Regions from separate parts of the Homo sapiens genome. Here region 2 is linked to region 1. The links are contacts of gene promoters, found by promoter capture Hi-C in blood cells and fetal thymus (Javierre and others, 2016). All regions are on one chromosome and are shown on one strand. Each heading gives the region's core, a stretch centred on a gene start or on the middle of the fragment in contact. The rest is flanking DNA. Distances are from core to core; before and after follow the strand shown. Region 1 holds the start of POMC (proopiomelanocortin). Region 2 overlaps DTNB (dystrobrevin beta).

The links. Contacts are between HindIII fragments. The CHiCAGO score rates a contact against its expected background, and 5 or more counts as called.
Region 2: a contact is called between a fragment that was not itself captured here and the fragment with the promoter of POMC in region 1, in 1 of 17 cell types (total B cells). The highest score is 5.3, in total B cells.

What each region holds. Positions count from the first base shown.
Region 1 is chr2:25,164,986-25,170,353 of GRCh38, reverse strand. It overlaps POMC (proopiomelanocortin), which reads left to right and starts at 1,774. Exons shown (of 3, transcript NM_000939.4): 1 at 1,774-1,856. RefSeq lists cis regulatory regions at 1,472-1,497, 1,498-1,671, 1,737-1,749, an enhancer at 1,658-1,677 and a promoter at 1,088-1,900. The HindIII fragment of the contact is 11,223 bases long and covers 1-5,368 here.
Region 2 is chr2:25,557,217-25,563,399 of GRCh38, reverse strand. All of the region lies in intron 8 of DTNB (dystrobrevin beta), which reads left to right. Among named protein-coding and RNA genes, the nearest start is that of DTNB, 110 kb to the left of the region's middle. RefSeq lists an enhancer at 4,533-5,228. The HindIII fragment of the contact is 8,244 bases long and covers 1-6,183 here.

The DNA of each region.
Region 1 (5,368 bases), core at 525-3,024:
GAGCCCAGGAGGTGGAGGCTGCAGTGAGCAGTGTTCACACTGCTGCATTCCAGCCTGGGCAACAGAGTGAGACCCTAATTCAAAAACAAACAAACAGAATGAGAGAGAGAGAGAAGAAAAGAAAGAAGGAACCCAGTTAAAGAAGTTGGGTCCATTTGGATTTTTCCTGGTTTGTTTTATCTGCTGCCACCAGCAGCCTCCTGAAGTTACAAAAATAACACAAAGTAAAATAAGGCAAAACCACCATCTGCTTGAAAGAGTTTACAAACCTGATGGTGGTCGTGGGGTGGATGGAAGATTAAAAAAATGGGGACAGAAGTGAATTAGTGCAAGCCACTTGCACTGACAAGATGGGGATGGACTTCTGTGGAAGGCAGAGGAGGTCATGCCTCATGCCCCTGGTAGGAAAAGTGGCCAAAGAGGGCTTCAGAGAACAGGGGCTGATGGATGGGCTACATCTTGATGTGAGTCAAGCTCCTGGATGGCTGGAGAGAGGAAGGATGTTCTAGTTGGGGGAACAGCTTGGACAATGGAGACCCAAGAAAGCCATGTTCTAGCAGTGTGAATGTTGTGGATGCTGAAGTGCCAGGATGCAAGGTGGAGAACTGGGAAATGGCCCTGGAAAGGGGCCAAAGCCGGGTGATGAAGCACCTTGTCTACTGTGACGGAGCTTGGATCTCTCTTGTGGTCCAAAGGGAAAGGATTGCTGAATGTAAAGCCAATGTCACCAGAAAAGCTGAATCCACAAGAGAGTCCTGGAGTCCAAAAGAGCATCTCATGGGGAATCAGGAAAGTTCTGGCATTTGGCAGATTAAGCAAGTGTCTTGATTTGAAGTCCAGTTTAGTCCCAATACTCCCTCCCACACCCACCACATCGCACAATTTGGTTTTGTTTATTTACTCCAGGTTAAGGTAGAGTCTCTTAGCTTGGTTTGAGTGCTGTACTCTTCTCTCTGGTCTGATATTTGGAACTAAAGCCAAGCCAGAACTCCAGGGCCAAGGGGGATGTTGAAAATTGTCTGAGTCCCCAGACCACCCTGCCAGCTCATGGCAAAGGGAGGGATCAGAGGCCACAGGGAAAGCACTTCAGCTGCTCTTCACAGCATCACCCTCTCCCCATTTAATGGTTTAGGTTAACAGGACTTTTTCCTTGAGGCTTGGGACACGGAAGGGAGCCTCCCCTAAACCAGGCCCTTGGAGAGCAGGCCCCAGGGGAGCAGTGCAACTCACCTTCACACCCACAAGACGGCTCCTGACTTCTGCTCCCTCCTCCCCTCCCCAAAGTGGAACAGAGAGAATATGATTCCCCACGACTTCCACATCACAGTTTCCAAACAATGGGGAAATCGGAGGCCTCCCCGTGTGCAGACGGTGATATTTACCGCCAAATGCGAACCAGGCAGATGCCAGCCCCAGCACGCACGCAGGTAACTTCACCCTCGCCTCAACGACCTCAGAGGCTGCCCGGCCTGCCCCACACGGGGGTGCTAAGCCTCCCGCCCGTTCTAAGCGGAGACCCAACGCCATCCATAATTAAGTTCTTCCTGAGGGCGAGCGGCCAGGTGCGCCTTCGGCAGGACAGTGCTAATTCCAGCCCCTTTCCAGCGCGTCTCCCCGCGCTCGTCCCCCGTCTGGAAGCCCCCCTCCCACGCCCCGCGGCCCCCCTTCCCCTGGCCCGGGGAGCTGCTCCTTGTGCTGCCGGGAAGGTCAAAGTCCCGCGCCCACCAGGAGAGCTCGGCAAGTATATAAGGACAGAGGAGCGCGGGACCAAGCGGCGGCGAAGGAGGGGAAGAAGAGCCGCGACCGAGAGAGGCCGCCGAGCGTCCCCGCCCTCAGAGAGCAGCCTCCCGAGACAGGTAAGGGCGCAGCGTGGGGGACCCGTGCTCTTTCCCCGGGATCCCCTGTCCCCGTCCTCGCGATGCAGTCGGCCGGCTCCGGCTCCGAAGGCGGACCTGGGCGCCTCTGGCTCTCCGCGGTCCCGAGTTCTCGACAAACTTTCTGCGCCGACTGCGGCATGAGAAGCCGCCAGTAGCTGAGCTGGAGGGCCCACGTCCGGCCCCTGGGCGGACGGCCGCGAAGCTGCAGGCGCTGTCTCCAGGGAGCCGGCGGCCTCCTCTCCCCCAGGGGCTCGCGGCGGTCCGGAGGCTCCGAGAGCTTGCTAGGAGGTCTTGGGACAACCCGGTCTTTTTTTTTTTTTTTGAGACGGAGTTTCGCTCTTGTTGCCCATGCTGGAGAGCAAAGGGGTGATCTCTGCTCACCGCAACCTTCGCCTCCCGGGTTCAAGCGATTCTCCTGCTTCAGCCTCCCGAGTAGCTGGGATTACAGGCATGCGCCACCACGCCCGGCTAATTTTTGTATTTTTAGTAGAGACGGAGTTTCTCCATGTTGGTCAGGCTGGTCTCAAACTCCCGACAACAGGTGATCCGCCCGCCTTGGCCCCCCAAAGTTCTGGCATTACAGGCGCGAGCCACCGCCCCCGGCCAGCCCGGTCTTTTAGTATCTCTTGCTCCCAGTTTCCAGGATAGGTGTCACATCTTGAAAGTCAAATTCCATACACGCTATCGCAAATTAATGTTGGAAACGGGGCAGCAGAGAAAAGGATAAAAGTCATAATGAACGCCCTGCCTTCCGGATTTTTTCGGATTCAGACCCCTGAATCCTTGTTTCCTTGCCCACCTTAGCGCACCCGAGGTGGCCGCGCTATGATAATTACATGATAACTGGGTCAATTACAATGCAGAATAGTTGGGTCTCTTCTCTCCAAGACCTAGCTGGGGTTAAAAACAGGTGGCCGGGGCGGGAGCTGTCCTAGATCCTGAAACGCACTGTCTAGTTTCGGATGCCCTCAACAGAACCGGGGTGGACGGTTTATGGCGCAGATCCTGGGTTGAGGGCACGGGCAGCCATTTGGAATGATCAAGGCTCAGGTAAGGGGCGTTTCCAGCGAAGGAGAGACAGTCCACTTGGCATTTGGATTCCCCAAATTCTTCATGTTTAAATGGGGCAGGGAGGGTTCTTACAGAATGGCTGGAAGGAGCCAAGGAAAATAAAAGTGTGTGTGGATTTTTTTTGTGTGTGTGTCAGTTTATAAACTCTGCACAGATTATGGCCACTTTAATGACTTACTGTTCCTTTGATGCTTTTGTTATAGGACTCGATGCATGTATGTCATGGTGTAAGGACAAAACTCGGCCCCTGTGCTCCTCTAATCTTTACAAAAGGTCATGGCCAGCGTGCAGTTTTACAGTAACAAGCAAAATGATTTGTTGAGCTCATAGAGAGCCCCTCACACCTATGAAGTTCTAATAAGTGTAGTTCTACTATAAAGTTAATCTCAGGATGAGCAAATTTCAAGTTTCTATTTTTCCAGAGCTTTCCATTTTTGGATTATAATACTTTCCCTACTTAAAAAAGCACAACATTTGATATTTCCCCAATAATTTGTTGCTTTAAAAATGACACAAAAGGTACTATTTGTTCATTGTAGAGAACTGAAAATACACATAAGCAAATACACATACACATAAGCAAAATATACAATACAAACACAAGACCATCTTTCAGGGAAGAATCTGAAGTTTTAGCAATAGCAGCCATCTAACCAGTTTAGCAACAGAATATAAGCTCTGAGAGGGTGGGAGTGAATATGTTACCACATTGTACAACACAGCACATAGGGCATAAGGAGGGGAAATGCTCTCTGGGGCTTTCCAGGAAGGCCTGAAGTCATTGCTTCTAGCAAATGGAAATCACTCCAGAGTAGTTATCTTTGACAAGAATTGAAATATAATTGAGGGAACTATCAGACCTGTAAGATTTTGTTTTTTCCTTTACTAATATGTTACTTTACATTTGCATTTGGTGACATACGTAACTACCATTTTTCTGTGACTGTAACATCTGGGCATTTTTCAGAGCTAAATGTGCTATGGTCAACTTGGAGCTTTAATCTAATTGCCTGGTCCACCAAGTTCTGGCTGTGTACTTGAATAGATCACTGGCAGGGTACAATGGGAACAGCCTGTCCCTTGGAGCCAGGAGAGGACACCAAGGTTGACCAAAGCTCGTTCAGTTGCCCCTTTAGCCGAAGCGCACCTGGGCCAGTCACTGGCTGCCAGTGCCATCTAATGGCTGCTCTGAAAATGCTCAGCCTTGCCCGGCAACCCTTCAGAAGCTAGCACCGTGCAGGCCCAGCGCCTGGGGAATAGGGCGAGGGTGGGGTAGAGAGAAGGAAGTGGCCTCCTGAAGTAGAAATCAGCGCTTCAGAGGACTTTCACTTCCAAAGCCTCCCCTATATAAAAAAGATTTGGCCCACGCCTCCCCAAATGAGAGATTTATTTTAGGCAAACTTATTTTAAAATGCCAGCGTTCATTAGGAGTGACAAGACACTTAGTCATCCACGCTTTAATGTGAATTACTTTTCTCATCTAATTACATTTCTTTCTAGCAGCTGGCTGAGAAGATCTTCTGAAATCCAAAATGATTGTAGGGTTGGCGGTGAGCTGATCTCCGGCCTCGAGGTGGCTTCAGGGGGCCCACCTGGTTAAGGGAAATTTGGCAGTGCGAGGGTAGTGCTGGAGAGAGGGGTGGGTACAGGGGGCTAGGGGCACCATGGATGCCCCCTCCTTACTGTCCCCTGGTGTCTTGACCTCAGCTTCTGCCCACAGGCACTTGCTGGATTCTCCAAAAGTATCTGCAGTGGCTGTTCCACCAGGAGGTAATTCCCTTCTGGTCTCTTTCCCCTCCACATCTGCATCCTCTTCAAATCCTGCCATTTCAGACCACATTTGAGAGCTCTAGAGAACAAGACATCTGACACGTGACGTGTCCAGAAGATGAGCCAGATTTCAAAGAACTGAGATCTGCTTTAAAAACGAAGCTCTCCAAAGTTACTGGAGTCTGGGTAATAGTGATCACCAGAGTAATTTGTGTGCAGGACATCAAATCAGGCTGCTCGAAATGCTGCCTAAATTGGCCAGTGGTTTTATTTGCTTTTCTGTCAACCTAATATTCATAGGAAATAGAGTTTCAGAGGAATGATAGGATCCTGGTGGAATAAAAAGGGAAAAGACCATCTTGAGCAGGAGTTTCAGGGTCCTCCGTTTTTCCCAAGTTACTTTCACTCCTGAGATCTTGCATGTTAGAACTACAGCTTAATGTAGTGAAATAGGAAAGTTCTCTGTTAGGAGCTTAGCCTTACCTTGTCATGGACATTAAAGTAATTGTCTCTCTTTGGGCTTCAATTTTCCCATCTCTCATGGGAAGGGCTGAACCAAGCAATCCCCAAAATAGCTTCCAGCCTTAACCTTTTTAGGGGTCTCGTTTAAATAGAAGATAACAGGGAAATGGTCACAGTTTACCCACCAT
Region 2 (6,183 bases), core at 1,075-3,574, 390 kb before region 1:
CCACTGAGTAGAAAATATTTACAAATCATGTATCTGATAAGGGACTTGTATCCAGAATTATAAAGAACTCTTAAAACTCAGCAACAACAAAAACAACACCCCAACTAACCCAGTTTTAAAATGGGTAAAGGGCAAAATAGAATGGTCGTTATCAGTTGGGAGGAGAAAATGGGAAATTATTGTTTCATCAGTATAGAGTTTCAGATTTGCACGATGAAAAAGTTATGGCAACGTGAACATACTTAACACTACTACTGTACTATACACTTAAAAATGGTTAAGGTGGTAAATTTTATGTTGTGTGATTTTACCAGTGAAATATGTAGATTAGGCTGGGCATGGTGGCTCATGCCTGTAATCCCAGCACTTCGGGAGGCTGAGGCAGATGGATTGCTTGACTCCAGGAGTTTGAGACCAGCCTGCCCAACACAGTGAAACCCCATCTCTACACAAAATACAAAAATTAGCCAGGTGTGGTGGTGGGTGCCTGTAATCCCAGCTACTCTGGAGGCCGCAGGAGGATCACTTGAGCCTGGGAGGTGGAGGTTGCAGTGAGCTGAGATTGTGCCACTGCACTGCAGCGTGGGTGACAGAGTGAGACTCCATCTCAAAAAAAAGAAAAAAAAGTAAATTGGGGGAAAAAATGGGGAAAGGATCTGAATGGGTGTTTCTCCAAAGAAGATATACCAATGGTTGAGATGCACATGAAAAGATGTTTAACATAATCATGAGGGAAACACAAATCAAAAACACAGTGAGGTGCTATTTCGTACCCAGTAGGACAGCTAAATAAAAAAGACTGACCATAACAGTGTTGACAAGGATGTAGAAAAATCAGAACCCTTATACTTCGTTGGTGGGAATATAAAATGGTATAGCCACATTGGAAAACAGTTTAACAGTTTCTTAGAATGTTAAACATAGACTCACCATGTGATCCAACAATCTGCTCCTAGGTATACACCCTTGAGAACTGAAAATACATGTCTCCACAAAAACTTGTATGTGAATGGTCATGGCAACATTATTCCAAAGAGCTAAAAAGTGGAAATAACCCAAATGTCCATCAACTGGTGACTGGACAAAGTGTAGTTTATCAATACAATGGAGTACTATTAGGTAAGCAAAAGAAATGAGGTACTGATACACACTAAAACATAGGTGAACATTGAAAACATGCTAAGTGAAAAAGTCAGACACAAAATGTCACATATTGTGTTACTCCATTTATGTGATATGTACAGAATGGGCAAATGCATAGAGACAGAATGAAATATACAGAATAGGCAAATGAACAGAATGTACATTAGTAGTTTCCGGGGGCTGGGGAGAGGGAGGAATGGGAAGTGGCTGCTGAGTATTGGGTTTCTTTTTTAGAGTGATGAAAATGTGCTGAAATTAGATATTAGTTATGGTTGTACAACTCTTTGAATATATTAAAAACCACTGAATTTTACAGTGGGTGAATTTTATGGCATATGAATAGTATCTCAATGTATTCTTTTTTTGCATTACTATAAAGGAATACCTGAGACTGGGTAATTTATAAAGAAAACAAATTTAATTGGTTCATGGTTCTGCAGGCTGTGCAAGCATGGCACCAATGTCTGCTCAGCATCTGGTGAGGGCCTCAGGAAGTTTACAATCATGGTGGAAGGCATAGCAGAAGCAGGCAGATCACAGGACGAGAGCAGGGGCAAGAGGGGGAGAGGAGGAGGAGCCAGCTCCTTTAAACAGCCAGCTCTCCTGTGGACTGAGAACTCACTCATCACCAAGGGAATGGCACTAAACCATTCTTGAGGGATCCGCCCCCATAATGCAGTCACCTCCCACCACGCCCCACCTCTAACACTGGGAATCACATTTCAACATGAGATTTGGAGGGGACCCACATCCAAACCATATCACTCAATAAAGCTATTATTTTGTATTTTAAATTGGATGGCTAGGGAAAGCCTTTCTGAGGTAGTGACATTTAAACTGACATTGGAATGACTAACTTGAGGTTGGTAGTTGTGAATTCAGCTTCAGACCAGTCAGCATAGCTGTGTATTTCACTCCCACCACACATTGTGTGGGTGAAGGCAGAGAGTGGATAGGGTTGGGTTTTGATAGAAAAGTATGACGAAGGAAGAGAAGTGGCAAGGAGGGGGGTGTTGAGTGTGTGCAAAGAAAATATAATATCAAATGTAGACATGGAGCTTGGTTCAAGAGAGAAATTAGGCCGTGAGGGAGACAAGATAAAGATGGTAGGCTCAATGTAGTATAGGTTCAGTGGGTTGAAGTATTTTTCTAGGCAGACTACTAGAAGGAATGTGCTAGAAAGACAGAAGTTGGTGAGAGTAGGTGCTTGAAACTGAGATTTCAGGTAATGTACAGTAACTGGCAATAAAATGTTGTAGGTAGGAGGTGACTAGAAATGGCAGCCAACATAGGGTGGGAGAACAGTTGCTGAAGAAGAATTCAGAGAGGACATATGTATTAACAGATATATTAGCTTCCTGTGGAGGCCATAACAAACTACCACCAACCTGGGGTCCTAAACCCTCTCACAGTGCTGGACACAAGTTTGAAATCGAAGTGTCAGCAGAGCCACACTCTCTCTGCAAGCTCTAGGAAAGTATCTCTTTGTATTAGGATTCTCTAGAGAAACAGACTCAATAGGGTGGGCACGCGCATGTCTGTGAGATTTATTGTAAGGAAATGGCTTATGCAGTTATGGAGGATGACAAGTCCCAAGATCTGCGGGGTGAGTTGGCAAGTTGGAGACCCAGGAGAACTGATGATATAGGTCCAATCCTGGTCTGAAGGCCTGAGAACCAGGAGAACCAATGGTGGGTAGTTCCAGCAGGCTCCAGACCTAGAAAGAGTTGATCTTTCAGTTTGGGTCCAAAGGCAGACGTTTGAAGACAAGAGGACTTTTTTCTTATTCAGGGCTGGGTCAGCCTTTTTGTTGTATTCAGGCCTTCAAATGATTGGGTGAGGGTCATCCACACTAGGGAAGGCCATCTCTTTTACACAGTCTACCAATATAAATGTTAATCTCATGCAAAACACCCTAAAAGGAACACCCAGAAGAGCATTTCACCAAATATCTGAGCTTCTCATAGCCCAGTCAAATTGACACATAAAATTTATTTTATTTTATTATTTCTTTGAGACGGAGTCTCACTTTGTCACCCAGGCTGGAGTGCAGAGGCACAATCTCAGCTCACCGCAACCTCCCAGGTTCAAGCTATTCTCTTGCCTCAGCCTCCCGAGTAGCTGGGATTACAGGCATGCGCCAACATGCCTAGCTAATTTTTGTATTTTTAGTAGACATGGGGTTTCGCCGTGTTGGCCAGGCTGGTCTTGAACTCCTGGCCTCAGGTGATCCACCCGCCTTGGCCTCTCAAAGTGTTGGGATTACAGGCGTGAGCCACCCACCACGCCCGGCCCCTTGACACGTACATTGAACATCACACTGTTCTTTCCCTCTTCCAGCTTCTAGCTGCAGTTGGCGTTCTTTGACTTTGTGGCTGTGTCACTTCAGTCTCTGCCTCCTGGGTTACATTGCCTTCTTCTCATCTGTCTCTTCTCCTCTGTGTATCTGTCTTATATGAAAATACATTTGATTGCATTTTGGGCCCAACCAGGTAATCCAGGGTAAATGCTTCCTCTCCCATCTAGATTCTTAAGTTAATTTTGTCATAGAAGGTAATATTCACTCTTCTGCCATATAAGGTAATGCAGGTTCCAGAGATTAGGATGTGGACATATCTTTTGGGGGGCCGTCATTCATCCCACTACGATCAGTGCATTGGAAAGATCAACTGTAAATGTTGAAATCAACAAGAATTATGACAGTAGTAATGTTGGACTCCGCGAAGGAGGGACAACTTGGGTTTTGGTCTGATTATACGACATTCAAAATCGGAGTTTTAAGGAAAAGGGAAAATGATCTGAGAGTGGCAGTGTGGTTCTAGGAGGACTTCTCCTCCACCTGGAGGTCTAGTTGTTTGAGGGGTGTGAGAAAGAAAGCAGCTGCCACTTGAAATGGCTGCAGGGAAGCTGAGCCTTCAGGGAATGCCAGGTTTCCTCCTAGAGCCGTAGGTGAAAGCAACATTCAGAGAAGAGGTTGATGCGTAAGCCTCGGACAGAGGAGGGATTTTGCCGATGCTGGACTATGAAGACAAGGAGAAGGGTTTTGAGAGTTGAGGATTGGGGTCGCGTGAGGGGATGTACTGAGCCTCACAGGAATAAAAACCAGGTGAGAGTCTTGGATTTCTTATTTTTAAAAAGTATAACCTGATATAAAGGTCGTGCTGGAATTAACCCCAGATAGGCAGATCATGGCACTGTGGCAATGTGTTAGTTGAGAGGGTGTTGGTTGCCAGGAACATGCAGGGCTCTGGGTTCATCTTTTTACTCTTGTTGATGGTGTTATGGAGGCCTGGGGAGAAGTGCTCTGAAACTCTCCCATTCGACAGCTGACTTAGAGCTAAAGTGACTGCTTCGTTGACCAGAGGCCTCCCTTTGAAATTCTGGACTTTCTAGAGCCCCCCAAGGGTTAGGGGGAATAGTCTGGGATATCCTGATAACCTTTATCCGCATTTTCAGTAGGTTGCTTGGGATGTTTTAGATATTGCTCCTTTCAATCATCTGAACGTTGCCCAATTCTACTGTGTTGTTTGCATGCACGATTTATTCATAAAACCACTTACAGCTGCAAAAATGCTAAGTTTAAAACGAGAACATTCAAAATGGACCCAGCTGTTTAAAAAGATGGATGCGATCAAATAAAGAATTGGTGTGTAGTTTATGAAACAATAAGGCATTTTTTCAACTGTAGCCTGATTATTCTTAGAGCGATGACAAGGAGGTTTTTCCATTACAAAGAAGTGTATGACTTAGCTTAAACCAAGCAGTTCTTCAAATGAGCAATTTCCTGTGGCAGTCATCACTTAGCCACAGCCCTTTTGTCAACTTTAGATCTTTTTTTTGTTCTTGCAGATGGCCACCAGAGCTGCACTGGAGAGTGCATCTTCTGCTTCCATGTGTGGGAAGATCACTGTGTTCTCTGTGACCCAGTAGTGTGAATTGCTTATCTGTTTCTGCATTAACTCAAATTTATCAGTGATTATTGCCTGAATACCTCATGCTTTCTGAGATCTACAGGTACAGATTTAGGGTTGAACTCTTTCTCTAAATAAATTTAATCCATGTGTGTTATATGTTGTATATCTTCATTTAGTGACTACGAAATGTCTAGCTATGAAATGTGCATGTTAATTACTCATTAAGCCTTTGGATCGCCTTTGATGAGCCAGATCCTGTGCTCCCCGGCATTCTCTTGCACACCTTCTTTCTGAATGTTTTCTCACAGTTCCGGCTTTTACATGCCCCTCACTCCACCCCAGACGCTAATAAATTTCTGCAGTTCTTAGTTCCAGCTCGTTCTTCTTGTTTAGGTTAAGACTCCTACATTCAGAGATCTCATGGACATTTCTGTCTTGAAGTCTCACTGGTTCTTCTGTCAATATGTGGTTCTAATAATTTTTCAGTTCCTTTTCTTGGACTTCCAAGTAGATAATTACATCATCTGTAGGAAGCAGCAACTGAATCACTTTCTGATAGTTTTACCCCTGTCTCAATTTTTTACCTCTTTGTGTTAGTAAGAACTTCTAATTTGTGGGGAAGCAGTGCTTCCCAGAATTCCCTGGAAAGAATCACCTGGGCTGTTTGTTAAATATACAAAGTCCCAGGCCTTCACCCTTGGGAATATTAGTAGGTCTGGGTTGAGGCTGAGGAATCTGCTTTGTTTTATTTTTTAAACAAAGGCCCTGGACATTTTTTATCTTGAGAAAACTTTGGAAAACACTGTTTTAGAGCAGTGCTAAATAATAGTTGTGATAGTCTTTTGTTGCTGCTTTTAGTGTGTCTGTACCATGTGTGATGTCAGTGGACTGCTGGCTCTCCTCCTATTTTGACCTGTGGTAGCACTTGTGACAGCTTTGGAACTGTGATGTGTCCGGTGTAGCGATACAATGGGCTGTCTAAACAGGGCAGCGAGCTTTCTGTCCTGGTATTCATTCAGTGACATCTCAGTTCCAGGCCCTGGAGAGTGCCACCATACACAGAAGCACATGGGAAGACCTCTTAGTCTTCCAACTCTCATACTCCCTCTAACTCCAGTCTGCCTTT